Linked DNA regions of Homo sapiens: region 2 is linked to region 1. Evidence: promoter capture Hi-C in human tissues and cell types (Jung and others, 2019). All regions are on one chromosome and are shown on one strand. The core of a region is centred on a gene start or on the middle of the fragment in contact, and the rest is flanking DNA. Distances in the headings are between cores, read along the strand shown. Region 1 holds the start of MN1 (MN1 proto-oncogene, transcriptional regulator). Region 2 has its middle 17 kb from the start of LINC01638.

Region 1 (3,774 bases), core at 720-3,219:
ATAGTTCACATGAAAACTAATTACACAAAATCAATATTTAATCACAGACCAACAACCTGATCCTGCAGAAAAATCCTTTAAAAACTCCACCGCCCTGTACAAATACTTATTCCCTATGCTTATTTATGGACCCCATTTTTGATGGGGGTAATTTTCATTTTTAATTTCAAAAAAGAAAAAATATATATGTCTGTAAACTTCCACAACAGGAAGGCCCCGGGAAAGGTCTTGGATCTGAGCTTGCTCTGGCTGAGTTTTAAAGTTGTTGTTTTTTCTTGTTTGTTTATTTTTAATTAAAATTTTTTTTGGGCGGGGGGCAATTTCTTAGGAATTCTGCCGCTACCCCAAAGTTGAGCCCATTTCCCCCCACCCCCGGCATGTCGGTTCTGGCATACTTAGCACTGCCTTCCTAGCCGCAACTCAGGGGAGCAATGAATCTGCGCGTACGACATGGTAACTTTTTAACTCCTGCCCGCGACGGTGGAGTGCTTAATCTAAGGTTTTTAAATAAAAAGGGCTCAGGGGTTGGTTTTATTATAACGTTTATTTCATTTCAGATTTCATGCGTAATTTAGCAAACGCTAGACAGACTCGGGCGATAAACACTTTCTTTTGTGGGGGGGGAAAGGCATTTTCATACACCACGCTTAATTTTATTTAGATTTAATAGCGATATCAGGGGCACTTCAAAGAAAGTTCTTTTTTCGCCCTTCTCCTAAGAATGCGAATCTGCTAGCAAAATCGCCTCGTGCTATTTTATGGCAAGGAAAATTAAAGGCCTTCTCCCCCCTCCTTCCCTACACACACTTTAGGGAGGAACACACACACACACACACACGCATGCACAAACACACGCACGCAGGCGCGAGCACACGCACACAGGCGCACAGAATAAACACCTCTATCCTCCATCACCTCTAACTTCCAACTTCTAATTGCAAGATAGATTTCAGCCTCTGTGGGGATCAGGACGATCTAAACATTTTAACTAAGATTATTGGGATAAATATTTCATAAAGAGCAGGGCAGATATTAAATTACTCCTATTGATTTTAGTATCACAGCCCAATTCCATTCCTCGGCCTCTTCAGTTTAATTGATCTCTTAAGGAGGCCAACTTCGCACCCGCAGAGGGTCTGGGTCTTGGACCGGGTGGCCCAGGGCAAGGTGTGCGGCCCGGCGGGTGCGCCCTCTTCGTGCGTGTCTTCTCGGGGTTCCCAGCCGCCTCGCAAGTCGCTCCGGTTACTGGGCTCAACCGATGTGCTCCCCCATAAAGTGGCTGAGTGACTGTGACTCCTTGGAGCCCACGCCGGCCGGTGAGAACCGGGAACCCCAGGCAGTGGGGAAGGGGAACAATTGTGAACGCCCTAGTGACGGAGGAGTGAGCAAGCGCCCAGGTCTCTCGAGGAGAACCCTAACTTCGAGGTTCCCCGTCTGCTTTACCCTCCAAGAAAATCCCAGGGCCGGCTAACTTGGGCGCCGCTAGCGGAGAACGGAGTGTTCACCCCGGAGCCGAAGTGCAGTAGACACTTAGCGACTTTCCGTGGCGAGTCTAGGGTCTTTGCCTGGCGACCTCATTGTCTGAGCGCCCCGTACCGCTCACCGCCCACCTCCCCGCCCCCTGCCCACCCGGTGGGTCTCGCTCCAGTTGGGGGTGGGGAGTTGGGAACAGTGTGAATGGGAAGGGGGTGAACAAAGCCAAGCTCCCGCCATTCTCCTCCGCCTGCACCCTCTCCAGCTCGATGCGCCCGGAGGCCGGGGCGCGCCCCCAGCGCACTGACGCCGGACCCCGAGGAGAGGCGGGCGCAGGGGACCCCAGAGCTGGGGTAGTGCGGGTTCGTGGCGGGGGCTTCGGCAGCCAGGACCCCGGACCACCTTAAGAGCGAGCCCCGCCCCGAGCCCGGAACTTGGGCGGCGCTGATTGGTGCAAATGTAATGGCTGAAATTGATTGCTGAAATGCAAAACTTGTTGCTGCTTCTCCCGGCGCTGGGCGAGAGGCAGACACAGAGAGGGGAGCCGAGACCCTCGGAACGCCCCACGCAGAGCCCCCCCGCTAGTCGGGAGAGGGGTGCGCAGACCCCCCAGAGCTGCCCCCGCGCCCCCCTCCCCCCATTCCGGGCTCTGAGAGCGCAGCGGGAACGCCTTAGCCTGCTCGCCCGGCGTGGCCCCCCGACCCGCGTACGCCCCCCTCCCTCAGGTCCGAGAGGGACTCGCGAAGCACCTCAGCGCGGAGGCAGGGAACCGGAGCCTTGGAGCGACCCAACCCCTCGTCTCGCTGCCCTCCCGCGCCTGCAACGGTGCGCGGAGACTCCGGCGAACTCAGACACCCAACGGCGGAGAACAGAAGCGGCAGGCGGCGGACGTGGCCGCGAAGCTGCGCGCCGAACGCAGCGCACCCGCTGCCGAGCAGAGGAGCCGCGCCTTTCCCCGACCCTCGGCTCCAGCCCCCGGCGCCTGCCGCCTCGCAGCCCCTCTGCGTCCTCGGCTCGGGGGCCGGCACCGGCGATGCCGAGCGGAGCCTCCAGTCCTCCGACCCGCTGAAGAAGCAGCAGCCGCTCGCCCGGAGCCTACGGGGATTGTGCGAGCGGATCGTGCTCGGTGGAGGCTCGGGCTGCGGGGCGCGGGGACTCCGGGGGGCGGGGGGAGGGACCGCTCTGTCGGTGCCCGGCGCCAGCCGCGGCTTTGAAGGGTCTCCCTCCCCTGCCCTTAGCAGCTCTGCCACGGACTCCGGGAGGCTGCGGGCGGCGTCCTGAGGGCTCCCCAGCAGACCCAATCGGACTTGAGAAGGTGATCGCTCTGCTCTCCCAACCCCCTTCCCTCCCCATTCCCCCCACTTAACTTTTTGTCTCCGTTCATCCGCGGCTTCGTCCCCTCCCCGCAGACCCACCCGCGGCTGTGACAACCGCCCGGGGCATGGGCCCCCCAACACGGCTCCTAGAGGCCCCGCGGCCTCGCAAGATGTGAGAGGCCCTCCCCGGGCAGAATCGGAGCTTCAGGAGAGGAGCTAATACCCCGCCCCCCGTCCCTCACATCAGGCGGGGTGGAGGTGCGCGCTGAGCCCCCGCGGTGCTGAGCGTCCCGGAGCGCCCAATCCTGGGCTGGAACGAGTAGCTGGCCGGAGGCGCGCCGCGGAGAGCCGGCTGTCATGCCCTATTGATCCCCCTCTGCCCCCCGCCAAGTATGTTTGGGCTGGACCAATTCGAGCCCCAGGTCAACAGCAGGAACGCTGGCCAGGGCGAGAGGAACTTTAACGAGACCGGACTGAGCATGAACACCCACTTTAAGGCCCCGGCTTTCCACACTGGGGGGCCCCCTGGCCCTGTGGATCCTGCTATGAGCGCGCTGGGCGAACCCCCGATCTTGGGCATGAACATGGAGCCCTACGGCTTCCACGCGCGCGGCCACTCGGAGTTGCACGCAGGGGGGCTGCAAGCGCAGCCTGTGCACGGCTTCTTTGGCGGCCAGCAGCCTCACCACGGCCACCCGGGAAGTCATCATCCCCACCAGCATCACCCCCACTTTGGGGGCAACTTCGGTGGCCCGGACCCCGGGGCCTCGTGCCTGCACGGGGGTCGCCTGCTCGGCTACGGCGGCGCAGCCGGAGGCCTGGGCAGCCAGCCGCCCTTCGCCGAGGGCTATGAGCACATGGCGGAGAGCCAGGGGCCTGAGAGCTTCGGCCCGCAGCGACCGGGGAACCTCCCGGACTTCCACAGTTCAGGTGCCTCCAGCCACGCCGTGCCGGCCCCATGCCTGCCGCTGGACCAGAGCCCTAA
Region 2 (3,774 bases), core at 376-2,875, 560 kb after region 1:
TGGGCTCTCCCTATAACTTCTTGACACCTGCTCTGTCCCTCTCATGGCCCTCTGTGGCTACATCCTGCCCTGCAGCCGTCGTCACACTGCTCCATAGCCACACAGTGCACCACCTTGCCCCCTGGCATTACCTGTGCTGCCACGTTTGCCCCCCTCTTTCCTTTGGGGTGGCTTCATGTCCCAGCTTGCACCCCCTGTCCCAGAAGCCTTTGCTGATCCCCTCCCTCCTTTCCAGCTCTAAAGCTGCTCCGTCTCTGCGTGCCTGTGTCTTGTCCTCCCCAGCCACTCTGCAAGGGAGTGGAAGGCGTCTACTACACGTCAGCATCCCTCTTCCTCGGGGCGGGGGTGCACCTTGGAAGTGCAAACATGTCTTATTTATATATGAATGAAGTAATAGATAAGAAGCAATGCCCTCCCAGGAATCACACTGTGACTTCTACCCTTGGGGAGCGGGCAGAGTCTGATGGCTGATGACATCAGCTTCACACGCAGTGTTCATGGAGCCCTGGGAGCACAGCATAAGTCTTGCTTTTGTGAGAAGCACAGTCCCTGTCCCTTCTCCCACCCAGATGACCGGCTGTTGGTCCCGGGAAGTAAGTGGCCAACTGCCCCATGGTGATAGACATTATTGTGTCTGTCTCTGTGTGTGTGTGTGTGTGCGCGCGTGCGCGGGGGGTGCTGTAACAGAAGGAATAATTCCCTAAGTAACTAGAAGCTATGAATTCACCAATATACCAAGAAAAGGAGGATGAAACCAATGTTGGATAGATTGTTAAGAGATTGACAAACAATGAGAGAGAGAGAGAGAGAGATAGGGAGAGACAGACAGACAGACAGAGAAATAAGAAGGGAAGTAAAAATTCAGAGGAAGGTGAAGGAGAACTTTTCTAGGGCAAAGCAAGCAGACGCTGACCCCTCTGCTCCCAGGGAAGGAAGATCAGTAGTTGTAAGGACCTGGAATAATGAGGCAAGAACCAAGAGAGAAGCCAAAAAGAAGCAGAGGAGGAAGAAGGGCCTTCTTTCCAGCATACTCAATATGCCAGTCCCCATGTAAACCTATGCGCCTTCACTGTCATCTCTTTTCAACCCTCCAGGCAAACCTTCAGGATAGGTCCCATTTTACAGATGAGGGACCTAGGGCTCAGAGAGGGGCCGGCACTTGTTTAGGGAGCTGCAGCTTGCCAGTGGCAGAGCCAGGAATGAGCCCCGGTCTGTGTGGCCCCATGCCCGGTCTCAGGCTGCCAGAAAAGCAGAGCTGACAGGAGAAAGGTTAGAGGAATAAGAAACAGGCTGGGGACATGCAGCCTTTCCCAGGGCCCCTCCCAGGCCTGCCTGACCCCCTACCCTTGGGGAAGGACAGGTTTAATGGCACTGTCCCTCCTGGGGTGGAGAAGGTGCTGAGTGGCACTTTCCCACAGGACCTGGTGGGAACAGAGCTGCCTGGGCCCCAGCTGGCTGCCCAGCTAATGAGCCCCAGAGGGAGCTGGACAGGCCTCATAAAGCCAAACACAGGGCAGCAGGCAGGAGGCAGCTGGAGCCCTGGGCTGTCTGCCCCTGGCCTTGGCTCGGTGCCGGCTGAAACCAAAAGCGCCCAAGACCTTGACAGACAAGAGACCCTTGCCAATCCCTGCTCCTGGTGCCTCCCTCTTCCTGCTCAGGGCCCAGATCTGAGCCATCTCCACAGAGACCATCTCCTCACTGCCTTAGAGACCATGTGGTCCTGATGGGACAGTCAGGGGTTCAGGTCAGAGCTAGGAGGACCCTCAGAGAGCATTGGCTCCCTTCTCTTGTAGAGTCAGGGTAACTGTGACCCAGAGAGGGCAAGCTACTGGGAAAAGGCCAAACAGCGAGACGGGACAGCAGACCCATGTGCCCATGTGTTTGTCTTCCTAGGAGCAATAGGAGTCCGTTTGCCCAGAGAGTAATTAGAATATGTGATATGACCAGCCCTTGTTAGGGCAGAGGACAAAAATTAGGCAACTTAGCCATTCCTAGCACTCACAAAAAGGTGAACTCTGGATTAACATAAGGATTAACCCATTTAATCCTCCCCCAAGCCCTACTAGGACACTTTTAGTATCCCCATTGACAATGGAAGACTCTGAGGGCTCAGAGAGGTTAAGTAACTTGCTCAAGGTCACGCAGCCAGTGCTATGGTTTGAATGTCCTCTCCAAAACTCAAGTTGAAATTTAGTTGCCATTGTGACAGTGGTAAGAGGTGGGACAATTAAGAGGTGACTAGGCCATGAGGACTCAATCCTCATGAACGAATTAATGTTGTTATCACATCACAGGAGTGATGGGAATTATCATGGGTGTGGGCACTTGATTTAAAAAGTATGAGTTCAACCCTTTTTCTGTCTCACCTTTTCTTACCCGTCCACCTTCTGCCGTGGGATGATGCAGCATGAAGGCCCTCACCAGATACTGGCACCTTGCTACTGGACTTCCCAGACTCCAGAAGTGTGAGAAATATATTTCTTTTCTTAATAAATTACCCAGTCTTGGGTATTTCATTGTAGCAGCACAAAACGGATAAAGATAGCCAGTTGGTGGCAAAGCTGGAGTTTGAACCAGAGTCCAACCTTTTACCTGTTATCCATGCGGCTTTCCCACTGAGGATGGAGTCAAGCTTCCTCCAGTGTGCCCAGGCCATAAGCTAAGCACTCACAGGGCAGGTAGACCCTGGGGGATCTCACAGCCTGGGGCAGTGGCTGGTGATCAGTAATCACACTCCAGCCTAATGTTCTGGCAGCCACCCAAGCTGGGCACAGAGTTAGATTCCCTGCCTGCTTCCTGATACTTAGCTTGTTCATTGCAGTCTAGCCTCAGTGTCATGTTTTTTCATTACCAAGAGCTTGTCCCAGCTCCTTGGTCTTGTTGTGAGTGGTGATAGCAGGGGCTCTGGAATCTGCCTGCCTGTATCTGCATTTTGACAGCTGTGTGACCTTAGACAAGTCGCTTAACCTCTCTGGGCTTTACTTTCCTCATCTGTAAACTGGGACTAATAATAGTACTTGCCTCATAGGGTGGAAATGAAAGTAGTGACTATTTAAAGTGCTTAGAAAAATGCCAGCACACCCCAGAGCTCACTATAAGTGATGATTACTATGGCTACTGCTGCTTCTATCGCTGGGGCAGGGGTGCGCTACAAACTGGAGTTGTCACCACAGATGAGGTCTGTGCTACCCATTGCCAACCACAGGGTATTTATTGGACACCCGCTGTGTGCCAGGCCCTATGCTAGGCACTGAGGGTGAAATAGTGAAGAAGCAGGCAGGCACCATCGCTGTCCCATGCCCCTCCCCCCAGCCTAGTGGGGAGATGGATGAGGAAACTGACAGTTCGACGCAGAGTGATCAGGGCTGCTGAGGGAAGCCCCCAGGAGGCCCCAGAGCCAGCAGAGGGTGGGATGTGGGCCTCGTAGACTTCTCGGAGGATAGGTGGGACTTAATCAGAAGAAGGTGAGAGGAAACAGGATTGGAGGTGGTAGGATCAGCACATGCAAAAGACTAGTGGTGGACAGACCACAGGAGTGTTGGAGGACCAGAATGAGGTTTTATAGTACTGAAGATCATGGGGGAGGGGGTCCTGAAAGGAGTGGGGGTTGGAAGGTCATAGAGGAAGGAGGCATGGAGGTCAACAGGGGCCAGATCTTCCAGCCAAAAGGAGAAAAGGGTTTGGACTTAACTTGAGGGCAGCAGGGAGCCGTGGAAGGCTGTAGGCACAGAAGGGATATAGTCAGATAAGGGTTTGAGAAAGACTTTGTGCAGC

The links. The method cuts DNA at HindIII sites, captures the fragments that hold promoters and counts their contacts. A contact is called where the count stands out against the background at its distance.
Region 2: a fragment that was not itself captured here is called in contact with the fragment with the promoter of MN1 in region 1 in 2 of the 25 tissues and cell types used here (dorsolateral prefrontal cortex and mesendoderm cells).

Annotation. Positions count from the first base shown.
Region 1 is chr22:27,799,951-27,803,724 of GRCh38, reverse strand. MN1 (MN1 proto-oncogene, transcriptional regulator) reads left to right here and starts at 1,969. Exons shown (of 2, transcript NM_002430.3): 1 at 1,969-3,774. The coding sequence starts at 3,182. The HindIII fragment of the contact is 23,630 bases long and covers 1-3,774 here.
Region 2 is chr22:27,239,712-27,243,485 of GRCh38, reverse strand. No RefSeq gene overlaps it. Among named protein-coding and RNA genes, the nearest start is that of LINC01638, 17 kb to the right of the region's middle. The HindIII fragment of the contact is 9,759 bases long and covers 1-3,774 here.